Linked DNA regions of Homo sapiens: region 1 is linked to region 2. The links are contacts of gene promoters, found by promoter capture Hi-C in human tissues and cell types (Jung and others, 2019). All regions are on one chromosome and are shown on one strand. The core of a region is centred on a gene start or on the middle of the fragment in contact, and the rest is flanking DNA. Distances in the headings are between cores, read along the strand shown.

The links. Contacts are between HindIII fragments. The study calls those that stand out against the background at their distance.
Region 1: a contact is called between the fragment with the promoter of CYP4F11 here and the fragment with the promoter of CYP4F12 in region 2, in 4 of the 25 tissues and cell types used here (IMR-90 fibroblasts, lymphoblastoid cells, small bowel and 1 more).

The regions. Positions count from the first base shown.
Region 1 is chr19:15,932,779-15,939,315 of GRCh38, reverse strand. CYP4F11 (cytochrome P450 family 4 subfamily F member 11) reads left to right here and starts at 4,787. Exons shown (of 12, transcript NM_021187.4): 1 at 4,787-5,105. The coding sequence starts at 4,908. The HindIII fragment of the contact is 18,991 bases long and covers 1-6,537 here.
Region 2 is chr19:15,668,949-15,675,144 of GRCh38, reverse strand. CYP4F12 (cytochrome P450 family 4 subfamily F member 12) reads right to left here and starts at 2,058. Exons shown (of 13, transcript NM_023944.4): 1 at 2,010-2,058; 2 at 1,418-1,616. The coding sequence starts at 1,615. The HindIII fragment of the contact is 17,744 bases long and covers 1-6,196 here.

The sequences.
Region 1 (6,537 bases), core at 3,538-6,037, 260 kb before region 2:
CTCCTGCCTCAGCCTCCTGAGTAGCTGGGATTGCAGATGCCCACCACCATGCCTAGATACTTTTTGTATTTTTAGTAATTTTTGTATTTTTAGTAGAGACAGGGTTTCATCACGTTGGCCAGGCTGTTCTCAAACTCCTGACCTCAGGTGATCCACCCACCTCGGCCTCTCACAGTGCTGGGATTACAGGCATGAGCCACCGTGCTCGGCCCATAAACTTCTATACTCTAAGCTTAAAAATTATTCATGCTAGAGTTTATTTATACAAATATGACAGATAGAAGTGTATGCATGTGTGCACTGTTCACCTAATTTCTGTGAAAATCTTGCAGACATACCTGCTGTTCTGTACCTCAATCCCTTAGCCTCATATCTTGCCTCCCTTGACATGTGTGTACATAGAGGAAGATGCATTTTAAATGATCCCCTTTCTCATTGATTTAGAACTGGTTGAGTTTGAGGCTCATTTCCGTAGAGTATCTACCCTCTAATATTCTGTAAAGCAGGGACCCCCAACCTCCAGGCAGCAGACTGGTACTGGTCTGTGGCCTGTTAGGGACTGTACCACACAGCAGAAGGTGAGCGGTGGGCAAATGAGCAAAACTTCTTCGGTATTTAGAGTCGCTCTACATCACTCGCATTACTGCCTGAGCTCAGTAATGCTCAGTCAGATCAGTAGCAGCATTAGATTCTCAAAGGAGTGCAAACCCTACTGTGAAATGCACATGCAGGGAATCTAGATTGTGTGCACCTTATGAAAATCTAATGCCTGATGATCTGTCACTGTCTCCCATCACCGCCACATGGGATCATCTAGTTGCAGGAAAACAAGCACAGGGCTCCCTGATTCTACATGACGGTGAGTTGTATAATTACCTCATAATATATTACAATGTAATAATAATAGAAATAAAGTGCACAATAAATGTGATGCACCTGAATCATCCTGAAACCATCTTTGCCTCTCCTCCCCCTGCTGCAACTTGTGGAAAAATTGTCTTCCACGAAACTGGTCCCTGGTGCCAAAAGGGTTGGGGACCACTGCTGTAAAGGCAGAGTGTGTGTGTGTGTGTGTGTGTGTGTGTGTGTGTGTGCTGAGGTCTCCATGTTGGGGGACATTCAAGCAGAGACTCTCATGGATGCAGTAGCTGGGCTGTGTAGAGCTCACTTCTTCACTAGATGGGAGGCTGGGCTCCACGGATTGTTCAGTTCCCAGAACCAGAACAGCTGGCATCTCCCCTGCAAGAATCCACCTGTGAGTCTGCCTTAACACCTAACAGGTGTTCAAATTTTCTGTTACTACTTCACCACAGATAACTCTTCTGGATTCAGGCCAAGCCTCCTGTGTCTAGGAGGTTGCTCCCCTAGCCATAATCTACAGCCAAAGAGAACACGTGGTGAGGACAGGCTGGACCTTTAGGTCCCTTCTCTAATACAGTGCAAGGCCATGTCTCTGCCCCCTGTGGGATCCAGGTCAAACCCCATATGCAGCTTACACAGCAACTGCAACAACAGCAGGAACAGTGAGTTGCACTTGCTGAACCTTTAGTCTGCCTTGTGCATTTTGCATGCATTGTCTTTTTAAGTATTATGACAACCATGTGAGGTGGGTGCTGCTGAAACGCCCATTTACAGACGTGAAGGAGCACGGCCCGGTGGTGAGGGTAGCACAATGTGAGGCTGGGTGGGAGGTCTGGGTGTATAGCCCGGCTCCACCAGCTGTGCAACTGTGGGTGGTCACTTAAGTATCTTCCAGGCTTAATGTTTCATTTGTAAAATGAAAAACAAGGTGACTAATATACTTAAAGGACTTAAAACAGGCTGTGTAGGTTATGTCGGCAAATGGTGGTGGCCACCATTCCTGCTCTAGGCTGCCTGCTCATCCCAGGCACACAGGTGGTCTACAGTGTGCCAAACCCCTCTAGCCACTGGGAGCGCTTTCTTCTGTGTCCCTATAACCCCGCCTGTTCATCAAACTCTGGCTTTGCTCCCTGAGCCTAACAGGGATGGAACTGCCAGTAGGTGAGGTCTGTCCTTGCAGAGGGAGTAGGGATTTTGGGGGATGCACCCTACCCCACTGAGGCTGTAGGGCCAGGAGCCTGAATCCCCTGGTTGATTGAGCTGGCAGTGGTGGTGGGGTGGGGGAGGCTTTGGGGCTCCCCAACACCCAGCCAGTGTCAGGAGCACTGTCTTCCCTGCCCTCCTGCTTAGCAGCTGTGCTAGGAGCCCCATCCTTCAAGCACCCCCTCACCCAAGTCCACCCGGCAGGGCAATTCTGGACAGGATACAAGGAGGGCCAGGAGGGGAGCCCTGGGTCTGCTGGGTGGAGCATCCGGGGTGTGGGAGGAGGAGCCAGGTGCTGATTCAAAGACCTCAAGATATTTCCCCTCTGGGACCATGACATTGCCTGAGATTCCTCCATTTATACATGTCCCTGTATTAATATGGCATTGACCCTAATGAATGGGTGCAGAACAGCATGGCAGAGGAAAAAGGTTTGGGCTTGAGGATCTCACAAACCTGGCTTCCTGTGAGCTCTGTAACTTGGGCTAGAGGCCTGCCCTCTCTGAGACTCAGTTTGCTCTTTTGTTAAATGGATGCATTCCCTTCTCTGGATGCCATCACTCAGGTCTCTCCAACAATCCCAGGGCTCTGGCTCAGAGAACCGAGGGGAGGTTGGTGTGAAGGCTTTGGGCATGGTGACGCGGGTGAGCATCTGACATGAGCAGGTGCACTTGACCTAGAGTAGGTGGAACACAGTAGGCATGCTTTACCTAGAGCCCCTGCCACATAGTAGGAGTGCTTTGTGGAGAGTGCCTTGCACACAGTAGGCATTCTTTATGTCAAGAACTTTACATAGAGTAGTTTTACTTTATGTGGAGCACTTGACACACAGAAAAAACACTTTATATAGAGCATCTGGCACACAGTAGGTGTGCATTATGTAGAGTACCGGCCACACAGAGTCAGAGTTTATGAAGAGTACCCAGCATCCAGAGTAGGCACGCTTTATGTAGAGCACTTGACACACAGAAAGAACACTTTATGTAGAGCATCTGGCATACAGTAGGTGTGCTTTATGTAGAGTACCGGACACATGGAGTCACAGTTTATGAAGAGTACCCAGCACCCAGAGTAGGCACGCTTTATGTAGAGCACTTGACACACAGTAGGTGCACTTGACATAGATCACCAGGCACGTAGTAAACATGCTCTACATAGAACATCTGACACACAGTAGGTGTGTTTTATATAGAGCAGCAGGTGCAGAGTAGGTACACTTTACATAAGTTACTCCGCACAAATTTCACTTTATATAGAGGACCGAGAACAAAGAAGCAAGATTTTCTGTAGAGCGCCCAGCACACAGTGGACACACTTTTCATAGAGCACTTGGCACACAGTACACAACATGTATACAGAGTACCTGGCACATGGTAGGTGTGCTTTATTTAGAGTCCAGTACACAGTAAAAGAACTTTGCATATTGTCTTTTGCAAAGAGCAGAGACTGACACACAGCAGCTAAAGTGCTAGCTGCCAGCCCCTTCCCTTCACTCCCTCCTCAGAATCTTTCATCTGTCCCCATCTAAGGCCCATTTTCCTGTGATCCCTCCTCTGTCCCCCTCTAAGGCCTTATCTGACATCCCATTTCCCAGATGGGAAGCCTGAGTCCAGGAGGGGCTCACTACCCACAGTTAGGGCAAGGGGAGGGCAGAATAAGGACTCCACTCAGGGTCCCCCATCTCTGCCCTCCTGTCCCTGGCCCCATCCACTCATGGCCCCTCTCAGCCTTACCTCCCATCTCCCCTCTCTGTCCTCCTATGCTGAACCTAGCCTCCAGGTATTCTCCTCCAGCGGGGCTCTTTATCTCTAAAATCTGACCGGGTAATCCCCAGCACAGTTAGATAGTTTGTTCCTACTCCTGTCAGTCATGTCTCGACCCAGGCCCTGGGTTGCCTGGAGGCAGGACTTGAACTCCTGCCAGACTGTGAAGCCAGAGGCCAGGAGCTTCTGTCTCTGAATCTCCTAAGTCTGCACTGAGAAATGGTGCATGATGAACTCCTGGACCACATGTGGAGAGGAGCTCAGAACATGATCTGGCACAATGGTTGGCCTGGCCCCACTCTCTTGCCACCTGAACTCTCAAGTTCATGACTTTATCTGCCACACTCTTGCCTTGGAAGGGCAAGGTGGCTGTAAACTTTGGGGCTCAGAGTCACCTTTGACTCTTCCTCAAGATCCCCTCCCACTCAGGTGTGAGATGTTGAGACCTGCGGATCCTGTGCCCATGCTGTGTCACCCTGAGCTGGCTCCTCTGCACCCAGCTGGCCCTACGCCAGGTTTTGGTTGGTTGCCCAGGCTTGGAAGACACACCCAGTCCATGGGGATTGGCTCGACCAGCCCAGCCCAGCCTCGCCTCCCACAGCCTTCCGGAAATCAGGGGCCAGAGGCAAAGACCTCCTAGCAGAGGGGGAGAGGAGGGTATGTGGGACAAGCTGCTTCTGATAGGAGCCAGGCTGGCAGTGGCAGGGCTGGAGGGTCCTGGCCTGGGATGGGGAGGGGACTGCCCAAGGTTGGGGTGGGTCAAGGCTGCTGGCCTGGGAGACTGGTGATTTCCTGGTAACTGGACCCCTGGCAACCTCCCAGTGATTCAGGCTGGGCCTTTTTGGATTCTAATCAGCCTCTCTCTCTCTTTCCCTTTCTGTGTAACTGGAGGCCACTTGGCTGCTGGTTTTCATTGGGCATTTCTGGACTTTAGATCTCAGCTCTTGTTTACCCATCTCAGAGCCTTCCCTGATCTGCCTCCAGCACTGCCCATCCTTGCCCCTTTCCACTGTCCTTGGAGCTTCCTGGGCCCTTCCCTGGGCCTCAGGATCCCACCCTCCATCCCGTCTGCCCTGCAGGATGCCGCAGCTGAGCCTGTCCTGGCTGGGCCTCGGGCCCGTGGCAGCATCCCCGTGGCTGCTTCTGCTGCTGGTTGGAGGCTCCTGGCTCCTGGCCCGCGTCCTGGCCTGGACCTACACCTTCTATGACAACTGCCGCCGCCTCCAGTGTTTTCCTCAACCCCCGAAACAGAACTGGTTTTGGGGACACCAGGGCCTGGTGAGTTTGTCAGCAGGACGGGTCTGGGGTCTCAGGATGCATGGAGTTCCTGAGGGGCAGGAATGGGGCTCAGGGAGCTGGGTTTTGAGGGTGGCTGGGGTGTGGGAACACAGAGAAGAGAGGGAGGCAGCTCACTCATTCCTCTGCCCACTCACTCATTCCTCTCCCCGCTCACTCATTCCTCTGCCCACTCACTCATTCCTCTGCCCACTCACTCATTCCTCTCCCCGCTCACTCATTCCTCTCCCCGCTCACTCATTCCTCTCCCCGCTCACTCATTCCTCTCCCCGCTCACTCATTCCTCTGCCCACTCACTCATTCCTCTTCTCGCTCACTCATTCCTCTGCTCACTCACTCATTCCTCTCCTCACTCACTCATTCTTCTCCTCACTCACTCATTCTTCTCCTCACTCACTCATTCCTCTGCTCACTCACTCATTCCTCTCCTCACTCACTCATTCTTCTCCTCACTCACTCATTCCTCTCCTCACTCACTCATTCTTCTCCTCACTCACTCATTCTTCTCCTCACTCACTCATTCCTCTCCTCACTCACTCATTCTTCTCCTCACTCACTCATTCCTCTCCTCACTCACTCATTCTTCTCCTCACTCACTCATTCTTCTCCTCACTCACTCATTCCTCTCCTCACTCACTCATTCTTCTCCTCACTCACTCATTCCTCTCCTCACTCACTCATTCTTCTCCTCACTCACTCATTCCTCTCCTCACTCACTCATTCTTCTCCTCACTCACTCATTCCTCTCCTCACTCACTCATTCTTCTCCTCACTCACTCATTCCTCTCCTCACTCACTCATTCCTCTCCTCACTCACTCATTCCTCTCCTCACTCACTCATTCTTCTCCTCACTCACTCATTCTTCTCCTCACTCACTCATTCCTCTCCTCACTCACTCATTCCTCTCCTCACTCACTCATTCCTCTCCTCGCTCACTCATTCCTCTCCCCGCTCACTCATTCCTCTCCTCACTCACTCATTCCTCTCCTCACTCACTCATTCCTCTCCTCACTCACTCATTCCTCTCCCCACTCACTCATTCCTCTCCCCGCTCACTCATTCCTCTCCTCGCTCACTCATTCCTCTCCTCACTCACTCATTCTTCTCCTCACTCACTCATTCCTCTCCTCACTCACTCATTCCTCTCCTCACTCACTCATTCCTCTCCTCACTCACTCATTCCTCTCCTCACTCACTCATTCCTCTCCTCACTCACTCATTCCTCTCCTCACTCACTCATTCTTCTCCTCACTCACTCATTCCTCTCCTCACTCACTCATTCCTCTCCTCACTCACTCATTCCTCTCCTCACTCACTCATTCCTCTCCTCACTCACTCATTCCTCTCCTCACTCACTCATTCCTCTCCTCACTCACTCATTCCTCTCCTCACTCACTCATTCCTCTCCTCACT
Region 2 (6,196 bases), core at 809-3,308:
GGCTACAGGGCTCACTGGGACATCTTACTGGGGAAGAGCACATTGTCCCTGGAAGGAGAGGGTGTGGGAGACTGCCTGCACTTCTCTTCTGGTCCAGCTGTGTCCCTCCGTGGGGAAGGAAGTCAGAGATAATTCCTGCGGGAAAGCAGCAGCCCAGAGATGGGCAGATACAAGCAAATGGGCCATGCAGGGAGCAGCCTGTCTATCGGGGCTCAGAAGGCTTCAAGTCCAGCAGTGGAGAAGGTGGGAATGCCAGGAGAGCCCTGCTCTGTGCACCCCACAACCATACAGGAGCCTCTGGGAGGGGCACTACGGTAGGGAAGACAGGCAGGAAAAGGATCCAAGCAGGCTGAGGTGGGAGGACAGGGAGGTGAGAAAGGTTTGGCATGGAACTGCAGAGGAATGAATGAATGAGGAAAGGAATGAGTCGGTGGGTAGAGGAATCAGTGAATGAGGAGAGGAATGAGTGAGTGAGGAGAGGAATGAGTGAGTGGGGAGAGCAAAAAGTGAGTGGATAGAGGAATAAGTGAATGGGTAGAGGAATGAGTGAGTGGGCAGAGGAATGAGTGAGTGATGAGGGGAAGGAGTGAATGAGGAGAGGAATGAGTGAGCAGAGGAATGAGTGAGTGAGCAGACGAATAAGAGTGAGGAGAGGAATGAGTGAGTGAGGAGAGGAATGAGTGAATGAGAGGAATGCGCGAATGAGAGGAATGCGCGAGTGAGGAGAGGAATGAGTGAGTGAGGAGAGGAATGAGTGAGTGGGTAGAGGAATGAGTGAGTGAGGAGAGGAATGAGTGAGTGGGTAGAGGAATGAGTGAGTGAGGAGAGGAATGAGTGAGGAGGGGAATGAGTGAGTGAGGAGAGGAATGAGTGAGTGAGGAGGGCAATGTGTGAGTGGGTAGAGGAGTGAGTGAGTGGGTAGAGGATTGAGTGAGTGGGTAGAGGAGTGAGTGAGTGGGTAGAGGAATGAGTGAGTGAGGAGAGGAATGAGTGAGTGAGGAGAGGAATGAGTGAGTGAGGAGAGGAGTGAGTGAGTGAGGAAAGGAGTGAGTGAGTGGGTAGAGGAATGAGTGAGTGAGGAGAGGAATGAGTGAGTGAGGAGAGGAGTGAGTGAGTGGGTAGAGGAGTGAGTGAGTGGGTAGAGGAGTGAGTGGGTAGAGGAATGAGTGAGTGGGTAGAGGAATGAGTGAGTGGGTAGAGGAGTGAGTGAGTGGGTAGAGGAGTGAGTGAGTGGGTAGAGGAGTGAGTGGGTAGAGGAATGAGTGAGTTAGCAGAGGAATGAGTGAGCCATCTCTCTTGCTTCTCTGGGGTCGCAGACCCCAGCCACCATCAATACCTAGCTCACTGAGCCCCATTCCTGCTCCTCTGGAAGTCCATCCACCCTGAGACCCCAGACACATTTTGCTGTCACACTCACCAGGCCCAGGTGACCCCAAAACCAGTTCCGTTTTGGGGGCTGTGGGAAACACTGGAGCCGGCGGCAGTTGTTATAGAAGGCATAGGTCCAAGCCAGGATGCGGGCGAGTAGCCAGGAGCCCACAACCAGCAGCAGGAGTAGCCATGGGGACGTTGCCACCGGTCTGAGGCCCAGCCAGGGCAGGCTCAGCAGCGACATCCTGCAGGGCAGAGGGGATGCAGGGTGAGGACCTGAGGCCCAGGGAAGAGCTCCGGGGACAGTGTATAGGGGCGAAGTCAGGAACTGCTGGGGGCAGGGCAGGGAGGGCTCAGGGGTGAGTAAACGAGGGCTGAGATCTGAAGTCCAGAAAGTCCCAACCAAAACCAACAACTAAGTGGCCTCCAGTAACCTGGTAACCACACAGAAAGGGAAAGAGATGGGCCGATTAGAGTCCAGAAGGGCCCCACCTGAATCCTTGGGAGTTTGCTAGGAGTCCAGTTACCAGGAAACCCCCAGTTTCCCATGCCAGCATCTTGGAGCCACCCCAGCCTTAGGCAGTCCCCTCTTCATCCCAGGCCAGGACCTTCCAGCCCTGCCACCCCCAGCCTGGTACCTTCTGTCGGGAGCAGCTTGTCCCACACAACCTCTTCTCCTCTTCTGCTGGGAGGTCTTTGGCCCTGGCCCCTGATCTAGGGAAGGCCGTAGGAGGCGGGGCTGGGCTGGGCTGGGCTGAGGCAGCCAATCCCCACAGCCTGGGTGTGTCTTCCGTGCCTGGGCAGCCAGCCAAAACCTGGGGTTGGGCCCACTGGGTGCAGCTCAGGGTGCCCCAGCACGAGCACTGAATTCTCAGGTCTCAGTACCTTCTTGGGAGTTTGCAGGGGAAGTTGGAGGGTGGTTAGAGGGGACTCTGAACCCCAAGTTTACCTCCACCCTGCCCTTCCAAGACAAGGGTGTTCAGATAAAAGCATATACTTATCATGACAGTTGGCAGCCAGCTGAGCTGGGCCAGGCCAACCCTTGTCCCAGATCATCTGGGCTCCTCTCCAAACATGGGCGGGGAGGATGTCAGGCACTACATCTTGGTGCAGACTTAGGAGATTCAGAGACAGAAGCCTCTCATCTCTGGCTTCACAGCCTGGCAAGAGTTCAAGTCCTGCCTCCTGGCAGCCCAGGGCCTGAGTTGAGGCCTGACTGCTTGAAGCAGGAAGAAAGAATCCAGCCCCAACCCCGCTGAGGATTACCTTCGTCAGATTCTGGGGATAAAGAGCCCAGCTGGAGGAGCAAACCTAGAAGCTGGGCTCAGCTTAGGAGGACAGAGCGGAGGCACAGGGGATGAGGCTGAGAGGGGCCTTGAGCTGACGGGGTCCAGGCAGGGGAGGGCAGAGCAAGGGGATCCCGAGTGGAGTCCTTGTTCTGCCCTGTCCTTTCTCTGACTGTGGGCAGTGTGGCCATCCTGGGCTCAGGCTTCCCATCTGGGAAATGGGATGTCAGATGAGGCCTTAGAGGGCGACGGAGGAAGGCTCCTAAGAAAAGGGAGCTCCAAAAAGAGGGACTGAAGGGAAGGGGATGACAACTAGCACTTGAGCTGCTGTGTGCCTGTCTCTACTCCATGCGAAAGACTGTACGGAAAGCACTACTGTGTGCACCTACTGTGTGCCAGTTTCACTATATAAAGTGCACTTACTGTGTATCAGATACTGTACATAAATTCTGTCTACTATGTGCCAGGTATGCCACATAAAGCTCACCTACTGTGTGCAGCATGCTGTACATAATGTAAGCTTACTTTATGCAGAGTACTTCATATAAAGCGTGCCTACTCTGTGCCATGTGCTGTATATAAAGCATACCTACTGTGTGTCAGGTGCTCCACATTGAGCATGTGTACTACGTACCTGGTGACCCACAGAAAGCGCACCTACTCTGCATCAAGTAATCTACATAAATCTTGTCTACTGTGTGCTGGCTATTCTACATATAGTGCACCTACTGTGTGCCAGGAGCTCCACATAAATACTGTCTACTGTATGCTGGGAGCCCTTCACAAATCCTGTATCTTGAGTCCCTGGCCCTTTATATAAACCATGCTTGCTGTGTGCCAGGTGCTCTAAATAAAGCACACCTACTGTGTGCCAGATGTTCCACATAAAATGCTTCTCCCGTGTGTTAGGTCCCCTACATAAAGTAAAACTACTCGGTGCAACATACTTGACATAAAGCACACATACTGTGTGCCAGGTACACTATATAAAGTGTGCCTTATTGTGTGCCAGATATGCTACATAAAGAGCACCTACTGTGTGCCAGGTATGCCGCATAAAGTGTACCTACTATGTGCTAGGTACGCCACATAAAGTACACCTACTGTGTGCCAGGTGCTCTACATAAGGTGCACCTACTATGTGCCAGGTGCTCTATATAACGTGCACCTGCTTGTATCAGATGCTCACCTGCATCACAGTGCCCAAAGCTGTCCCACCACCCTCCCAACAGCTCCCTAGGCCAGAACCCTGGGCATTGTTGAAGAGACCTGAGTGATGGCATCCAGAGGAGAGAAGGTGTCCATTTAACACAAAAGCAAACTGAGGCTCAGAGAGGGCAGGCCTCTAGTCCAAGTTGCAGAGCTCATAGGAACTCAAGACTATGAGACCCTCAAGTCCAAATCCGTTCCCTCTGCCATGCTGCTCCACCCCCATTCTTTAGTGTCAATGCCATATTAATATAGGGACATTTATAATGGAGTAATCTCAGGCAGTGTGATAGCCCCAAAGGGGAAATATCTTGAGGCCCTTGGATCAGCACCTGGCTCCTTCTCCCACATGCAGGATTCTCCTCCCAACAGATCCAGGGCTCCCCTCCTGGCCCTCCCTAGATCCTGTCCTGAATTGTCCTGTGGGGTGGACTCAGGTGAGGGGGGCGCTTGAAGGAGGGGGCTCCTAGCAGAACTGCTGAGCAGGAGGGTGGGGAAGACAGTACTCCTGACACTGGCTGGGTACTGGGGAGCCCCTAGACCACCCCCACCCCACCACCCCTGCCAGCTCAATCAGCCAGGGGATTCAGGCACCTGGTCCTACAGCTTCATTCGCGTAGGGTGCATCCCCCAAAATCCCCACTACCTCTGCAAGGACAGACCTCACCTGCTGGTGGTTCCATCCTTCTTAGGCTCAGGGAGCAAAGCCAGGGGTTGATGAACAGGCAGGGTCCTAGGGACACAGAAGAAAGTGCCCCCAGTGGCTAGAGGGGCTCAGCTCACTGCAGACCTCCTGTGTGCCTGGGATGGGCAAGCAGGTTAGAGCAGGAATGGCGGCCATCGACATTGCCAACATGAGTCATGGAGCCTGTTTTAAGTCTTTTAACTATATTAACCATTTTGTTTTTCCATTTTACAAATGAGAAATCCAGTCTGGAAAATATTTGAGTGACTACCCACAGTCATAGAGCTGGTGGATCTGGGCTGTGCACCCAGACCACCCACCCAGCCTCACATTGTGCCCCCCTCACCACCAGGCTGTGCTCCTTCACGTCCGTAAATGGGCGTTTCAGCAGCAGCACCTCACAAGGTTGTTGCAATAACGAAAACAGATTATGCATGCAAAATGACATTTCAGGGATAAAAAGAAGGGAGTAAAGGGGAAGTTCATCTACTAAACATGTGTTAAGTGGCATCATCTCCCCTCACATGTTGTCACCAATTCTCTCAGCAGAGCAGATCTTTGCTGTCCAAACAGCCTGCAACTTCTCCCCTGATAGCCAGACTGGGTATTAAGCCTTGCCTGTCATCCTCTACTCCTACTCCCACTAAGCAATAGTAGCAGAATAGACAAAAACAACTCCTCCTCCCATCCCCACCTGGGGAGCAGAGCCATCGGCATTGCCAACATGAGTCATGGAGCTCAGGAACAGCCACCAGCACCTGCACTCACCATTCAATCTCTTTAGGCTCCCAGACCTTCAGAAACTCTTGCCTTTCCTGCCCGCAGCGCTCCTGGCATTCTGGGTGCATTGCAAGGTTGTACTGGACCCAGGAGAGACCACTGGTCCTGGTGTCATAGCCTGAGGGGCAGCCAGGCAGTCTTGGGTCTCTGGGCTGCTTCAGCACAACAGGGTGGACAGCACCCATGGATTGAGGGCCTCAGAGAGGATGGGGGAAGGGGGATGGGAAGGGTGAAGCCATCCAGGGTCCACCCACCACGTCCCTGGGATGAGACATCTTGGTCCTCACTGGGATCCTCTCCCTCAAACATGAAGGTGTCAGCCTACACTCTTATGTCCTCATCAGACAACTCCTTCCCATCTTCATCCTGGAGAGAAGGAAAAACACCCTTGAAAACCACACAAGCTCTGAGGACTCCTCAGTCTAACATGAAATAAACTCTGAAGATCCATCCTCTTTCCAGAAACCCAAGCCCAGCTTGCACTCCTAGATGTCTCTTGGTCACCATCACCAGAGCCCACACCATGCAATCTTCCTCACTGGCTTCCTTCCTTCTTCTTTTGTCCCTGGTGGGAAGAATCAACGACACATGAATATTTTCATGTTTCTACATGTTGAGAACTTTCTGAGAAAAAGTTACTGGCAAATGAGCTTACAGGATAATTAAATAACAATTCGCCTTGGAAGTTAGAGATTAAGTATTGCTCCAAAGATGTATACTCACATTCCAGTGTGGTAAATGCAGACAATCTTATTTATTTCCCCTGAAGACATTTGTGTTGTAAGTCTACAGACTATTACATCTCACTGGAGAGAATTGGTTTATGCTTCAGAATAAAGCACTCTCTCTTGCTCTCGCTCTCTCT